Linked DNA regions of Homo sapiens: all the other regions are linked to region 1. The links are contacts of gene promoters, found by promoter capture Hi-C in blood cells and fetal thymus (Javierre and others, 2016). All regions are on one chromosome and are shown on one strand. The core of a region is centred on a gene start or on the middle of the fragment in contact, and the rest is flanking DNA. Distances in the headings are between cores, read along the strand shown.

Region 1 (4,724 bases), core at 621-3,120:
GTGTGCCTCTATTAATATCTATTTATAAAGGTCAGCCTATTCTATATTTGAAACACAAAGAACCTTTTAAGAAAGGTGGATTTCTTTTGACTATTGATAACATGTACAGGAAAAGCTAGAAAAAATAAAAAGCTGTTGAAACACAGGGACTATGCTTAATATTTCTTGTATTCCCCACAAGGCCTTTTACAGAGCAGACATCCAGTAAATGTTTGATGATAAAAATAAGAAATATTTGTTATATTTTGAAAAAAGATTCATGGTGGAATTTCAAACGTGTACTGTGATCAGAACTATGGCAGGGGCAAACCAGGGGCTCAATAAGTGAGGCTTAACCCTCATTTATACCTTCCAGGATTTCTACCCCCACTCTTTGTCTTAAAACCTATTACAAAAATGGAAAGGAGGCCAAATGCTGTACCTATCTGGTAATGTCGCTGTTATCTGTGAAACCAACTACAAATTATAAAGCTTAATTAAGTGTCCTTGAGTCTTCATCACTGTAATTCTCCGATGCTTCATCAATATTAACACAGGGCAAAGTATCGATTGCTACTCTAGTCTTACTCATCAACTCATTAATTCGCTTCAAATCTCACAACTAAAATGCTCTTTCAATGATGTTATTGCACTGTAATTTGTATAAGGTACACTCCACGAAATACTGTCAATACATTTTATTGTGAGCATCTAATATGTGTCAGGGAGTGTGCTGACATTGGGTAAAGAAATTCATGTATTAAACTAAAACTTCCTCAACATCCATTACCAAGAACAGATCCTGCCTCAGTTTACTATCTGGCAGGGAAGGCAGACATTTAACAAGCAAATACAATTTCCGTTTTCAGAAAGAAGTCCATGTGAGATCTCAAGAGACAAGTAATCAAGGATCAGGGTGAGGAGGGAGAATGCAATCAGGCAAACAACTTGAATATCATCTGATAAATGTTATACTTTGGCCAGCATGTGGCCAAAGTACTATTAAAATTAAAAAGTGAGAGTATTTCATTCTCTGGAGGCTTGGGGAAAGCATCAGAAAGGAGCAGACATTTTCAGGGATGAATAGGCTTACACTAGGCTTAATAAAATGGGTGCCAGTAACGGTGGCTGTGATGGTACTCAGAAAGGAATTTCTTCTCGAAAACGCACGTATGGCAGGGATGGGGGATTCCAAGTACCAGCTGTGACGCATGGATGACCGTCATACCACTCTCACTGATTCTTTAGCTTCCTAGTCAAGCACCATCGTAACTAGTTGAACCAGTCGAGTGGGAGTTGATATTTCAGATCAGACCTCGTATGTTTCCCTCAGAGTGTAGAATTGCCATATAAATAACAGGATGTCTAGTTAAATTTACATGTCCGATAAAAAACGAATGTGTAGTGAAGTCCCCAATATTTGGTACATGCTTGTATTAAACATCATTTGTGCTTTATCTGAAATTAAAACTTCATAGTTTCATCTGTTTTGACTTTTTGTGTATTTTTATTTATTTATCTGGCAAACGTCCCAGAGCGGTAAGAACCGGCACGGTTTTGCCGTGGCACAGCTGATTACAAACAAAAAGTCTCTCCAATCAGAAGCAAGCGCGCAGAGAACTGGCGTCCGGAATAGAGACGCTGTAACCAGGAAACCAGGGTGAGCACCCACCCTACCGTCGGCCGCTTCTAGGAGACGGGCGCAGGCGCGCGCTGACGTTACATCTCGCGCTTAAGGGTGGGGACGACAGAGCGTCTCTCTCGGACGTGACCTCAGCGCCTCTTTGTGATTGGCTGCCTCGGGGGCGCGGCCCTTGGGCGCGGACGCCCTAGATTGGTGCTGCGGAACAGCAGGGAGGGACTCCGGCTGCAGCCGCGGGAGGTCCGGACACTGGCGGCCATGGAACTCACCGGTGAGTGCGCGTCGCGCCGCCCCTCTCCAGCGCTCTGGGCCGCTTTCGGATGGGGCTGTTCTGCGCGCGTGGGATCGTGGCGGGTGGTGGAGGGGGTGAAACCGACCCGGTTCGAAGCCCGGAAGTTGGGTCGGAGGGTCTCCAGAGTAGGTTGGGGCTGAGGGTGCGTTTAGGGCGGACGCGCTGGGTTCCTTGGCTCAGGCGGGTGGGTCGAGGGACTGGGGTCTCCGGAACCCCGGGCCTGAGACCAACGTCCACTCTTTGGTTGTTTTCTTTCTCTCTTTGGGCCTGGCCATCCCCGCCATGAACCCAGCGGGGTCGCTGTCTGAGCAGGGGTATCCCCTCCTTGGCCCGAGCGTTTCCCCAGCGACCTCTCAGGGAATCAGGGAATGAAGCTCAGACAGTGCCCAGGAATTGTCGGTGGAAGTACCATTCTCTTGACCCACAACTCCTGCCAGGTCTCCCTAAGGTTCTTCAGGAACCTCTACTGCTAATGATTGCCCAGGGCTCGTTGGTCGTGGTCGAGAATTTTACGGTAATGTCTTTGCCACTTTAAGTGGCTGGGTGGGAACCTTGGACAAATCACTCAACTTGTCTGGGTTCTCATTTGTAAAACGAGAGAGGTATTCACTAGAGCTCCAAGCCTCATTTCGGCTTTAAGAGCTAAGATTCTGCGATTGTGCAGCATAATGAACTTTTATGTCAAAGATGTTTGGACTGAAAACCTGGCGGAAGTGGGCAGACTCCTCACAGAACGTTGCAGGCTAATGACAACATTTTAAATGATATCATTTGGTTCATTACTCACTGTTTTTGCTATCGTTCATCTTTTAAAACTGGTAGAACTGGAAGTTCGGGTTTAGGTGACCACAGTAAGAAAATGTTAGTTAAGCCACCTAAAAGTACAAACTTGGGGAATTTCAATATTTGGTAATATTGAATCTTAATTAGTAAACTCAGTCAACAAACACTTCTGGGGTCTTTCCGAGAGTATATTTAAAATGTAGATGAGGCCGGGCACGGTGGCTCACACCTGTAATCCCAGCACTTTGGGAGGCCGAGGCTGGTGGATCACCTGAGGTCAGGGGTTCGAGACCAGCCTGGCCAACATGATGAAACCCCGTCTCTACTAAAAATACAAAAATTAGCTGGGCTTGTGGTGTGCGCCTGTAATTCCAGCTATTCAGGAGGCTGAAGTGGGAGAATCGCTTGAACTCGGGAGGCAGAGGCTGCAGTGAGACGAGATCGCTCCACTGCACACTAGCCTGGGCAACAGAGTGAGACTCCGTCTCAAAAAAAAAAAAAAAAAAAAAAAGTAGATGAATTTGTTGGAGAGACTAGACAGTTAAGCCTTTGCACATACAGTTAATTGGCATTTTCTGAGTTTGCAGGTGAAACCGGAAACTCAGAGCTTTAGGATGGCTTCTCATTGTATAGTTGTTTGTTTTCTGGAGCCTTGGAAATCTCATTTGTAAAGCTGAGGAAGATTTTGACTAGATATCCAAGATTCTTTTTAGCTTTAAGTGTCTAAGAATGTACAGTAGTACTAAATATTGAGTGGGCATTTCACATTAATAAAGCTTTAGGGGACCCCTGAGATAAACATTTCGCACTTTAAATTGAGAAAATGGTCCCAGATACAGCCCATCTCTAGTTTAGCCTTTATCTTTAGACACCGCACTGAAGGGAGGGACACTCATTGAGTTTGAAAGGCCTGCATAACTGATAGAAAAGTTTAAAAAGTGAAGGGAGCAGTTACATAATCACCCTCTTTGGTTTTTGTGTTTCTGTTTTTTGTTTTTGTTTTGTTTTGTTTTTTTGAGATGGAGTCTCGCTGTGTCACCCTGGCTGGAGTGCAGCGGCGCGATCTCGGCTCACTGCAACTTCGGACTCCCGGGTTCAAGCGGTTCTCCTGCCTCAGCCTCCCGAGTAGCTAGGACCACAGGCAGGCACCACCACGCCCAGCTAATTTTTGTATTTTTAATAGAGATGAGGTTTCTTCATGTTGGCCAGGCTGGTCTTGAACTCCTGACCTCAGGTGATCCACCCACCTCAGCCTCCCAAAGTGCTAGGATTACAGGCGTGAGCCACCGCACCCGGCCTAAATAATCACCCTCTTTGAATAAGGAAGGAGAACATGTGTGCAGCATGTGCTCTGGTGACATTTGAAAAAGGTGCTCTCAAAAAGATAGTTCGAGCTCCGGGTGTGTTTTAGTGTAAACCACAAAGGTAATGCTAGCAAAACTTTGAGAGTAATTGAATCAGTGGCTAAGCTATAGAGCAGGGGTTGGCAAACTTTAGTAGAGGACCAGATGGTAAATATTTTCAGCTCTGTGGGTCATATGGTCTCTGTTGTAGCTACTCTGCTCTTGTAGCACAAAAGTAGCCATTCACATAAATGAATGGGCACACCTATGAGCCTATAAAACTTTACAAAAACAGGCAGTGGACCAGTATAACCGAGTTTGGATCCTGGCCTGTTTTAGTTGTCTGTTATTTTTTACCAAACCACCCCAAGACGATGTAAAACAATAGCCATTTTGGTATGTTTCATGATACTGCAGTGAGCTAGGCTCAGCTGGGTGGTTCTCTTGGTCTTGCCAGTGGTCACTAGGAGGCTGCATTTAGCTGGTAAGTTGGCTGGATGGCTGGGCCTCTGGCTCTTTCCATGTAGTCTCAGAGCTCTTCCTTCTCCATATTATCTCTTCCCTTGTCCCTCTAGCACAGTAGATGGATTCCTTACACTTTGGCTTAGGATATCTAAGAGTGCACAAGTGAAAACCACCACACCTTGGAAATCACCACACCTTTTTTAGGCCGAGGCCAAAAATT
Region 2 (4,724 bases), core at 987-3,486, 840 kb after region 1:
AGACATACAAATGGCCAATGGGTATATGAAAAAAATGCTCAACATCATTAATCAGGGAACTACAAATCAAAACCACAATGAAATGTCATCTCACTGCAGTTAAAATGGCTTCTGTTAAAAGACAGGAAATAACAGATGCTGGTGAGAATGTGGACAAAGGGAAACACTTGTACACTGTTGTTGAAAATGCAAATTAGTACAGCAGCTATGGAAAACTGTATGGAAGTTCAAAAACCTAAAAATAGAACTGCTATATAATTCAGCAATTCCACTGCTGGGTATATACCCAAAAAGAAAGGAAATCAATGTATCAAAGAGATATTTGCACTCCTATGTTTATTGCAGCATTATTCATAATAGCCAAGATATGGAATTTATCTAAGTACCTATTAATGGATGAATGGATACAGAAAATGTAGTATGTATTCACAATGAAATATTATTCAGCCATAAAAGCATGAAATCCTGTGATTTGCAGCAACATAGTTGGAACTGGAGGTCATTATGTTAAGTGAAATAAACCAAGCTCAGAAAGACAAATATCACATATTCTCCTTCCCACGTGGGAGCTTAAAATGAGAATCTCATGAAGATAGACAGGAAATTGATGGTTATCAGAGGCAGGGAAGGGTACAGGGTGGGGGGAAATGAAGAGAGGCTGATTAATGAGTATAAAGATACAGTTTGTTGTAATAAATTAGACCTAGTGTTTGATGGATCAGTAGGGCGGCTATAGTTTATAATAATCTATTATATGTTTCAAAAATAACTAGAAGAGAATAATTCAATTTTTTCTATCATAAAGAAAAGTATTTAAGGTGACAGATATCCCAATTGCACTGATTTGATCTGTACAAATTATACAAATATATTAAATTACCTCATGTGCCCTCAAAATATGTATATTATATATAAAAAAATTTAAAAATAAAAATGTCAATGACCTAGGGGGGAAAATACTTTCTATCAAGGGGTATAGTTTGTCAATACATTTATTCAGATCTCATTTTATGTCCTTCAATAAAATTTATAGCTCTTTTAAATAAATGTTACATTTTCCTTGTTAAATTGTTTCTATGTAATTTGTAGTTTTTATTTTATTGTTAATGAGGTGTATGGTTGTGTTTTCCATTTCTATTTCTATCTGGTTTCTATGAGTAAATCAGTTGGTTTTTAAAATATTTTTCCTGGTAACCAGCACCTTACCAAATTATTTTACTTCTAGTCACATAATTTTCTTTTAATTGAGCCTGTTGGTTTTTTTTTTGTTTTTTTAGGTAACCATGGAATTATTTGCAAATCAGTGTGATATGACTATCTTCCAATATTTACATAACTTCTTTACTTTTTAAAGAATTCTCAAGAACTCTGAAGAAATGAAAATAACATCTCTTCCTTTAAAGAGCATAAGCTATTGGCCAGTGTTCACTATATATTAGAGTTGTAATTGTGATGGCAGGTACTTTACTTGTGATGCATAATCCATCTTGCTGTCTGTTCTATTCCAGGATGATATTTCTGGGTTAGAGTACCTCCTTAAGCAGAGCCACATGGAAACAGGATTTTTAAGGGACACATTTTGAGTTGGTCTGCCTAGCTGTGAGATAGATGGGAGGGGGTGGGGCAAAGTGTATCTTAGAGGCCAATTGTCCCACAGGTTTTCAAATAAATGGCAACATTTTTTAAAACTAAGAAAAATTGAGCTTTTGCCTTTTAAAATCTGGTTCAAATGTCCCCTTATGAAACAGAACGAAGTGAAAATGCTCCCAGCAACATGTCATGTGTCTGGATGGGAAGTGGAGGCTCAGCCTGCCACTCTCTCACTATGTCTCCAAGGACTGTGCTGTGGTTTGTGACTCAGCTATTGTTTGCAAAGCCCAGGACCACCACATTTTGTACCCTTCTCTGTCTTCAAGGAGAAAACCCACTTCATATAACCAAGCCCACATGGATCCTCACACTGAGAATTATAAAAGACTGCACCGAGCTGTTTTCTTCCTGTTACTCTTATGATAAATTCCTTTCTGAGCTTTAGAAATAAGTAGCTGGGGAAATTTGTTCCCTCTACTTTCACTTTTGCTTTCTCGTTTTGAAATCATCATGAAAGCTTACAGAAGCTAACATCAAGTTGCCCTGGTTATCAGACGATTTCTCTTCTCTATCTTGACCCCTCATCAACCACTTTACATCATCTTTCCATGTGATACAACTATTTATTTGAGTGCCTTGGGCTCTAAGCTCTGTAGAGCAAGCAGCCTATACTTTATTTTTCCTCTTCTGTGTTCTAAGACACTTGTAATAATTATCAGCCTAAAATTAACCCAAATATCAGACGCATGGTGTTTGGTAGCCCTTCAAAGCTTTTTTGTTTTTTTCCTGGCCAATCTCAGGTACAATGGTTTGGTATTAGACTAAATTTAACATGTGTACAATGAAAAGATTTTGCTTCATTTTTCTAGGACTTTGATGCTCTGGTATTTTGAACCACCTAGGCTGTGATCACTCAAGTTGCCTAGTAACCAGCTGAAGGCCAGCACCAGAGTGAAACCAAGAGAAGCCACATTCCTTAATAAAGACAGCAACAGCTGGGGAACCAGCAGGTCTAGGTTCACGGTTGAGCTGGATCCTTACTCCTTTGAGGATGTGACTGACATGTCTTTTATTAAACTGCTTAAATCCTCCATCTGTAAAATGGGCCTGACGTTTGACAGCAAGTACCTCCTGCACATATTGTGAGGATTAATGAAGAATCTAGAAAACAGTTTGAACCTTTCAGAATAAAAGCACTTGGAAAACATGTTGGATTTACAATAATTTAGTGCTAGCATTAAGATAATGTTGGAAAGCAGGGTCAGCTAAATCACTGATTTCCAAGATTTAAAGACAACTACAGTAATAACAGTCTTTCCACTTGCCTTATAGTTAATTGTGTTTATATAATTATCTCAAGGACAGAAAGTGGTGATAAATGCATTGAAAATGGAGAAAAACGTATTATGGTATTAAAAAACAATCTGAGTTACCATATCTGAGATCAACCCACATATGTGCGGATTTACTCAGTACTAATTCAGCTAATCTTTCTTAGAGATGACTGTCAATTCTAGAAGAACTCAAGATACAAGGTAAGACCATTAGCTTGGTGTATAGTCTGATGAACAGCATATAAAAATGGCTTTGTTTGGGAAACAGTCCCTCTATGTCAATATGGAATTCTGGGCTCATCTGAGCCAACACACTTACCTAGGATTCAAGTTCCTTCCCCTCACCTACAATCTATGCATTCTTTTTTTCTTGTCATTACCCCATGTAGACTTTGCATTTCGCCCATGCTAAAATATTTCATCTCCCTTTCACCCCAAACACAATGAACTCTCCTTAGCTAGAAATGTCAGCTCACAAGCTTCTGTCTTAGAACAATTTTTTTCCACAATTCTCTTGGATTATCTGAAACAAAACTATCCTGAAAACCACCAGCTCAAGTACTCCTTTGCAAAATGGACTGTTTTATTTCCCAGGCCCAGAGTGGTCATAAAGTCCCTGAGGTATCATTAGGCATCAAGAAGAACTGGGTTCAAATCCTTTTTATGCTTTCTGTGCATACATAAGGCAAATTACTTAATTTCTCTCAACCTTAGATTCTTATCTATAAAACAGATAATAATACACTCAAAGGTTGTTGGGAGGATTAAATAAGGATATATATATATGTAATATTTTCATATATATCCTTATATAAGTATATAAGGATATATATGCAATATGTATATATGTATGTGTACATACATACACATATATAGTGCGTATATATATATACACACACTCACACAGACATATATATATGGTGGGTCAGAAATTTCAGAAATATACCCCGTGCTCAATCAACGTAATTGATAGAGTTCTCTTTCCCCCTTCCACTCCACCTTCTTTCTAGCTCTCATACTAATCATGGCTGCTTTTCTAGATGGTAGAGTAGAACCCTATATCGACTAACAAAATAGATGTCTTCTATTTGAAGGGATTTAGAACCAGGTTAAAAAGTAAAACATAATGTCCATTCGCCTGCATTATAGTTTTCTGCGATGTTTAGAGAATTTTTTTAATGACAGGTTTTGATTGTCTTATATTGAATATGTTTTAAGTGGTTTTCACCTAATATAAGAGGAAAACATCAAAAGCCACAATCCTAGAAAGAGAAACTACATTACATTGAAAACTCTCAAGGGCTAATGGGCCATTTATGCCTTTTCTCTGGGCATTAGGAAACTCATTGTATGGTGACAAGTTTGCCTTGGCTCAATCTGATCTACCAGCAAGGACTCTGAAAGACATTCATTCAATCACTTGTCCATCCTGAAGCCACTGCTAAAATTGCAGCCACTGCTAAAATTGCAGCCGGCTGAAGTGACACAGGAAACCAAGTCCCTGTACTTAACTTGGAGGATGAAAGGAGGCATCATACAGAGGACTGATTAAAGGCCAGGTGATGTGGCGGCCCTCATACTCAGAACATCTGGGAATTTTTAAATGCTGTCCTGACCCTCACTAGTTTTCTTCAAATACTGGAACTGCTGGAAATTCCACCCAGTTTTTCTGCAAAACCCATTTAGGTGCTTCTACGGGAGTCAGGTGATTCCCAGAGTCCAATAACTCCAATGACATGAGACTTCGGAGATTTGCTGTTTTCTAAAAAGAGCAAGACAACCGTCTCTTCCACTTCCATT
Region 3 (4,724 bases), core at 1,065-3,564, 510 kb before region 1:
ACATAAGTTTCTTAAATACTGAGGACTCCTCTTTATTATTGAATGATCTTTGGTGATTTTGTATCTTTGGGTGATTTTGTATCCAGTGTTTCGTTTGGTCTTATTAAAGATTATAGAAAAGTCATATCATTTGAGAGGTGAGAGATGTTTTACAGTGATCTAGTCAGGTGATTTTGTTTTGTTTTGTTTTGTTTTAAGCTTTTTGCCCCATGGGTAGAACCTTAAATAAAATGAGTGGAAGTGAGGCTGCTCCTTGTGAAATCAGGAATGAGGATCCTGTATCCTGGCTCACTTGGCCTTTACCCCTCTGCACAGGAGACAGTTCTTGAGTTTGAAAACTGCCGTTGTTGATCAAACTTCAATTTTATAAAGAATGCAAATTTGGGAGAAGTGACTTGTCTAGGGCCATATGCCAGTTAGTGATTGACATGGGGCTGCAACTCAGATCTTAAGCTTAGAGGCAAAGATTTTAAACAGGGCTGGAAAAAGATCAGGTTTACATATCTTAAAAGATTGAACTGAGACAATGGATGAGGGCAGGAGGGGCTGAGACTGGCACCTGCAGGATCAGTAGGAGACTATGTGAGATCCTGAACCCAGGCGCTAGAAAGGAGGGCTGTCACTAAATAGCCATTATCAAATAGGTAGGTTTGATAAGACTTGGTCACCTCTAGAAGTGGGAAGAATATGGGAGGTCGAGGCAGGAGAATCGCTTGAGCCCAGGAGTTCAAGTCCAGCCCTGGCAACTTAGTGAGACCCCGCCGTCTCTACAATTAAAAAAAAAAAAAAAAATTAGCTGGGCGTGGTGGCATGCACCTGTATTCCTAGCTGCTCTGGAGGCTGAGGTGGGAGGATTGATTGTGCCTGGGAGTTCAAGCCTGCACTGAGCCCTGATTGGGCCACTGCACTCCAGCCTAGGTGACAGAGTGAGACCCTCAACGACAACAACAAAGCGGAGAGAGCAGCGAAGGAAAGGGAGGAGTGGGGTGATCTCCACATTTCTGGTTTGCTGATGGGGTACAAGGTGAGCTAGATAACTCGGCTTATTTTGGGGTGAGTTGATTTGGGGATGTCTATGTGACTTTCATTAAGAGAAGCCTGATTTTCTGGTGGGATGTGGTTGGTGTAAGTATGGAAGTCTGGGGAAAATAAGACAAAGTATTAGATCACCAGCATTCAAGTGGCAGGCAAAGGAGATGAAGAAGGGACCTTCAGAGTGGAATGAGAAATTTCACCAATGCCAGATGTTGCATAAAGTTCAATGAAAGTGAGGAAGGAATCTGGTAGATTTTACAGTGAGCATTTCATATAATGCCCTTTGCCAGAACATTTTCAGTGGAATAGTGGAGATAGAACTCTCGATGTAATGGGGCGAAGTGTGAAGAGGTGGAGAAATTTAAATAGCATGTGTAGACTATTTTGGGGAACTTTGCTGTGAAGGACAGGAGACGAGGTGGTAACCACTCATAGACATAGGAGTGGGGGACAAGGTTTTTAAAAAAGAAGGTGTGAGAGGCTTAAGCTTATTTCTAGATAGGGGAAGGAGTCCCCCGTGTGGAGGAGGAAAATACCAGCAAGGGATTCAATCCCAGGAATGGGCTGTTATGGGAAGAAAGGAAAGCACTGCTTGGTGTTCATGCACATGTCACTCAGTCTGTCCGTGTTGAGCCACTACTTTTTCTTTTGAAAGCTACAAAGGGTATCTAATCCAACTCTGATACTTATATCAAGCACCTTTAAATAAAAGGTGGACTTTAAAAAAAACAGCTTTATTGAGATATCAGTCATATACAAAAGGTGGAATTTATCAGTTCTTTCTCTATACGTTCCCCCTTCCATTTCATACTGAAAACCTCATCTACTCTACCACTTACGGACATATTTTTTGTTGGTATAAACAGGTGGTTTGTTTTCCCTACTGCTGGAAGCGAAGAGCTTTTTAAGCAGGAGAATTACTGCTTAGCGCCTGAGAAATTCTGGACTGGGACTTCTGCTGTTCATATCAGCAAGTGATTTTTGTTGTTTTTGTTAAATTATCTCATCTACATTCTTCATCCTGAGTATTTGGCATACAAATTCCCCCTTTTGAGAGGGGAATGATGGATAAGAATAATATTAGCTGAAAAGACAGACTGAAAATCTGGGGACTTAAGTTCTGTTCCCTTTGTAACGTTAGCTAGTTTTATGACTTTAAACAAGTCACTTTGTTTCCTTATCTCTAAATGCTCTTGAAGATCCCTTCAAGACAGAATACTGTGCTTTTTTGATTCCTGTTTTGTGTAGCATTTTGTGGAAGAGTCACTGGATTAAGGTCTTTTAAAATTAATTTAAAAACATATATATCTCCAAATTACTAGCTTGATAATTTGTTAAAGAATACTTACTGATTTTCTTTACTAACAAAAGAATTTTTAATGACATACCAGTGGGTATTGAGAACACTTCAGCTACATTCACCCACAGTCAGCTGATATTTAGCTGATATTTAGCTGACTGCGGAGAAGTCATGTGTTTTGAATATAAGAATAGGCACTTTCAGATGTTCTCTGAGTGCCAGTAATTAGAGTAAGCCTTAATCCACTGTGCTAAAAATAACCAAACATACCTTTCTTCTTACTAGTCTATTATTAATTTTACTTCAGATTTAGACTTACAAATAGGCACTAAGAGAACAAAATGAGCTCATTATTGATTTTTTTAAAACCATTTGGTCCTAAATATAGGAAGTACACTTCAGGTTCTCTTGGTAATCTTTTACTAAATCAGTATGGCATATTTTACTTCTCTTCAAAGCTCTTAAAATATTGTTTCGAGCACATTTTAATTTTTGCCAGGTATGGGATTACGTTAATGCAATTGCTGGCTATAGTTTTTAATGTAAAACTTGGGCTCTAGAGTCAAATTGCTGTTCCTAGGCAGGTTACTCAAACCTGGGTCTCTTATCAATGCAAATAATAATGGTATCTCATGGATACGGTTGTTGTGAGGATTAGAGTGGTAAAATATGCAAAAGCCTTAGCTAACATTTAATGTCTCATGTAGGGCGAGGATTCAGTGAATGGTACTTAATTATTATGTTTCTGTTTTTTTCCTGCCCTAAGCTTTCTGGAAAGAGGTACATTATTATCCTGATAGCTATCTGTTCACCTACACCAAAGAATTCATTAATTTGATTATTCTTTTTCCATTCCGAGTGAAAGTAAACATTACTGGCTGGGGCTTAGACACATTGTTTCTGATGATTTTTAAATTAATGCTTCCAAGTGATTCATGCAGTTTAGGACCTTTGACTAGTGTTTAAGTGCTTTTTATTTGTAAGTAAAGAGGCAGTACTGTGGATAAGGAGCGAGGATGGTACGAGCATTAGCTTGTTTAATAGTAGCATGAGGAAATCTTAAATAAAAGGAATTTTACTTGAAACTGTTAGTAAACTTTGTATAATAAATTATTTAGCATTCTGTTCCTATCAGCTAGTCATATCTGGTTTTTAATCTACCATTTTTATGTCAGTCCCTTTAATGTTTAGTTTTCTTAAATCAGGGAATCTTATGTGTCATTTATCAGTTTCCTCAAATTCAAAGTTCTATTTAATGAGCATGGGTTAGGGAGGATGGAGAGTTGGAATACTCTATTCTCTTTTAAATAGACAAACAAAAACAGTAACGATGGGAAAGAGAGGGAGCACTTTGTTAAAGTTGGCATTGATGCCCTGTTTTGTCTTCCATGACTTATTCCCTTCACAATGATGATAAATGAACACATGTGAATACCTCCTCTCAATAAGACTGCAGTAGCTCCACCATTTTAAATAACTTACTGAGTGTGGAAGTCAGGTAGAGTAGACATGCACAAACTCATGATATATATGCCAAGTGAGTTTGTATGATACAGTGGAAAAAGGCCTGGAGTTAAGGTCAAAAGATCAGGTTTCTTATCCCAGTACTAGCACTTGTAGGCGCTGTACTCTTAAGCCTCATTTTTTTTTTGTCTTTTTTTAATCTGTGATCAAGGATGAAAGATAGTACTTGCTGTTGAAAACATCAAATAAGATGAAATGGTTTTAATAATGAAATTAATGCTGTTGTGTGAATACTAGTTATTTTCATACTAAGGAGCAAGAATTCATTGAGTCTCAAAACAGGTTGTGTTATTCTGTATACAGTATTATTTTACATTAATGCTACGAGCAGTAACTGCCCATTGTGTTTTCTAAAAATCATTTAAGTGATCTTCAGTGAAAATTATAATCTCCACTGAAATGTTCTGTGTTTAGCCTATCTTAGGTTTTTATTTTCTTTCTTTTCAAAAGCCTTAAGTACATGTAAACCATTTTAAAATGCCCTTTTAATCCTCCTCAAAGGACTTGCTATGCCTCAGGGTTGAAGTTTTGCTTCCTTGGGTCAAGCATAACATGATTCCATATGCTAGAATCCTAATTTGAAGGAGAATATAAGTTTCCCAACCTTATTCCCTCTTCTAGGGTAAATAAACTACACTTCAGTTCAACAGTGTAGAACTTGGTAAATTTGAGAACAGGCCTCTGTTTCCCTTAAGTGATAGGAACTTTCTGTTCTCTTTCTCTAACTTCTGTAATAACGTGGAGCTGTTGTTCTTTTCGTATGGTTTATTCTGCAATCCTAGAAACCTTTTTAAAAACAATTCTATTCTGTTAGAAGTCAAGAGCATAGTTACCCTTGGGGGTGGGAGGTTGTGACTGGGAGAGG

The links. Contacts are between HindIII fragments. The CHiCAGO score rates a contact against its expected background, and 5 or more counts as called.
Region 2: a contact is called between a fragment that was not itself captured here and the fragment with the promoter of PIGA in region 1, in 2 of 17 cell types (total CD8 T cells and activated CD4 T cells). The highest score is 7.6, in total CD8 T cells.
Region 3: a contact is called between a fragment that was not itself captured here and the fragment with the promoter of PIGA in region 1, in 1 of 17 cell types (naive CD4 T cells). The highest score is 6.5, in naive CD4 T cells.

What each region holds. Positions count from the first base shown.
Region 1 is chrX:15,332,669-15,337,392 of GRCh38, reverse strand. It overlaps PIGA (phosphatidylinositol glycan anchor biosynthesis class A), which reads left to right and starts at 1,870. Exons shown (of 6, transcript NM_002641.4): 1 at 1,870-1,892. RefSeq lists enhancers at 1,939-2,018, 2,069-2,118. The HindIII fragment of the contact is 3,001 bases long and covers 474-3,474 here.
Region 2 is chrX:14,494,681-14,499,404 of GRCh38, reverse strand. It overlaps a transcript of GLRA2 not described here. Among named protein-coding and RNA genes, the nearest start is that of GLRA2, 32 kb to the left of the region's middle. The HindIII fragment of the contact is 253 bases long and covers 2,110-2,362 here.
Region 3 is chrX:15,846,587-15,851,310 of GRCh38, reverse strand. All of the region lies in intron 2 of AP1S2 (adaptor related protein complex 1 subunit sigma 2), which reads left to right. Among named protein-coding and RNA genes, the nearest start is that of AP1S2, 5.9 kb to the left of the region's middle. The HindIII fragment of the contact is 1,579 bases long and covers 1,525-3,103 here.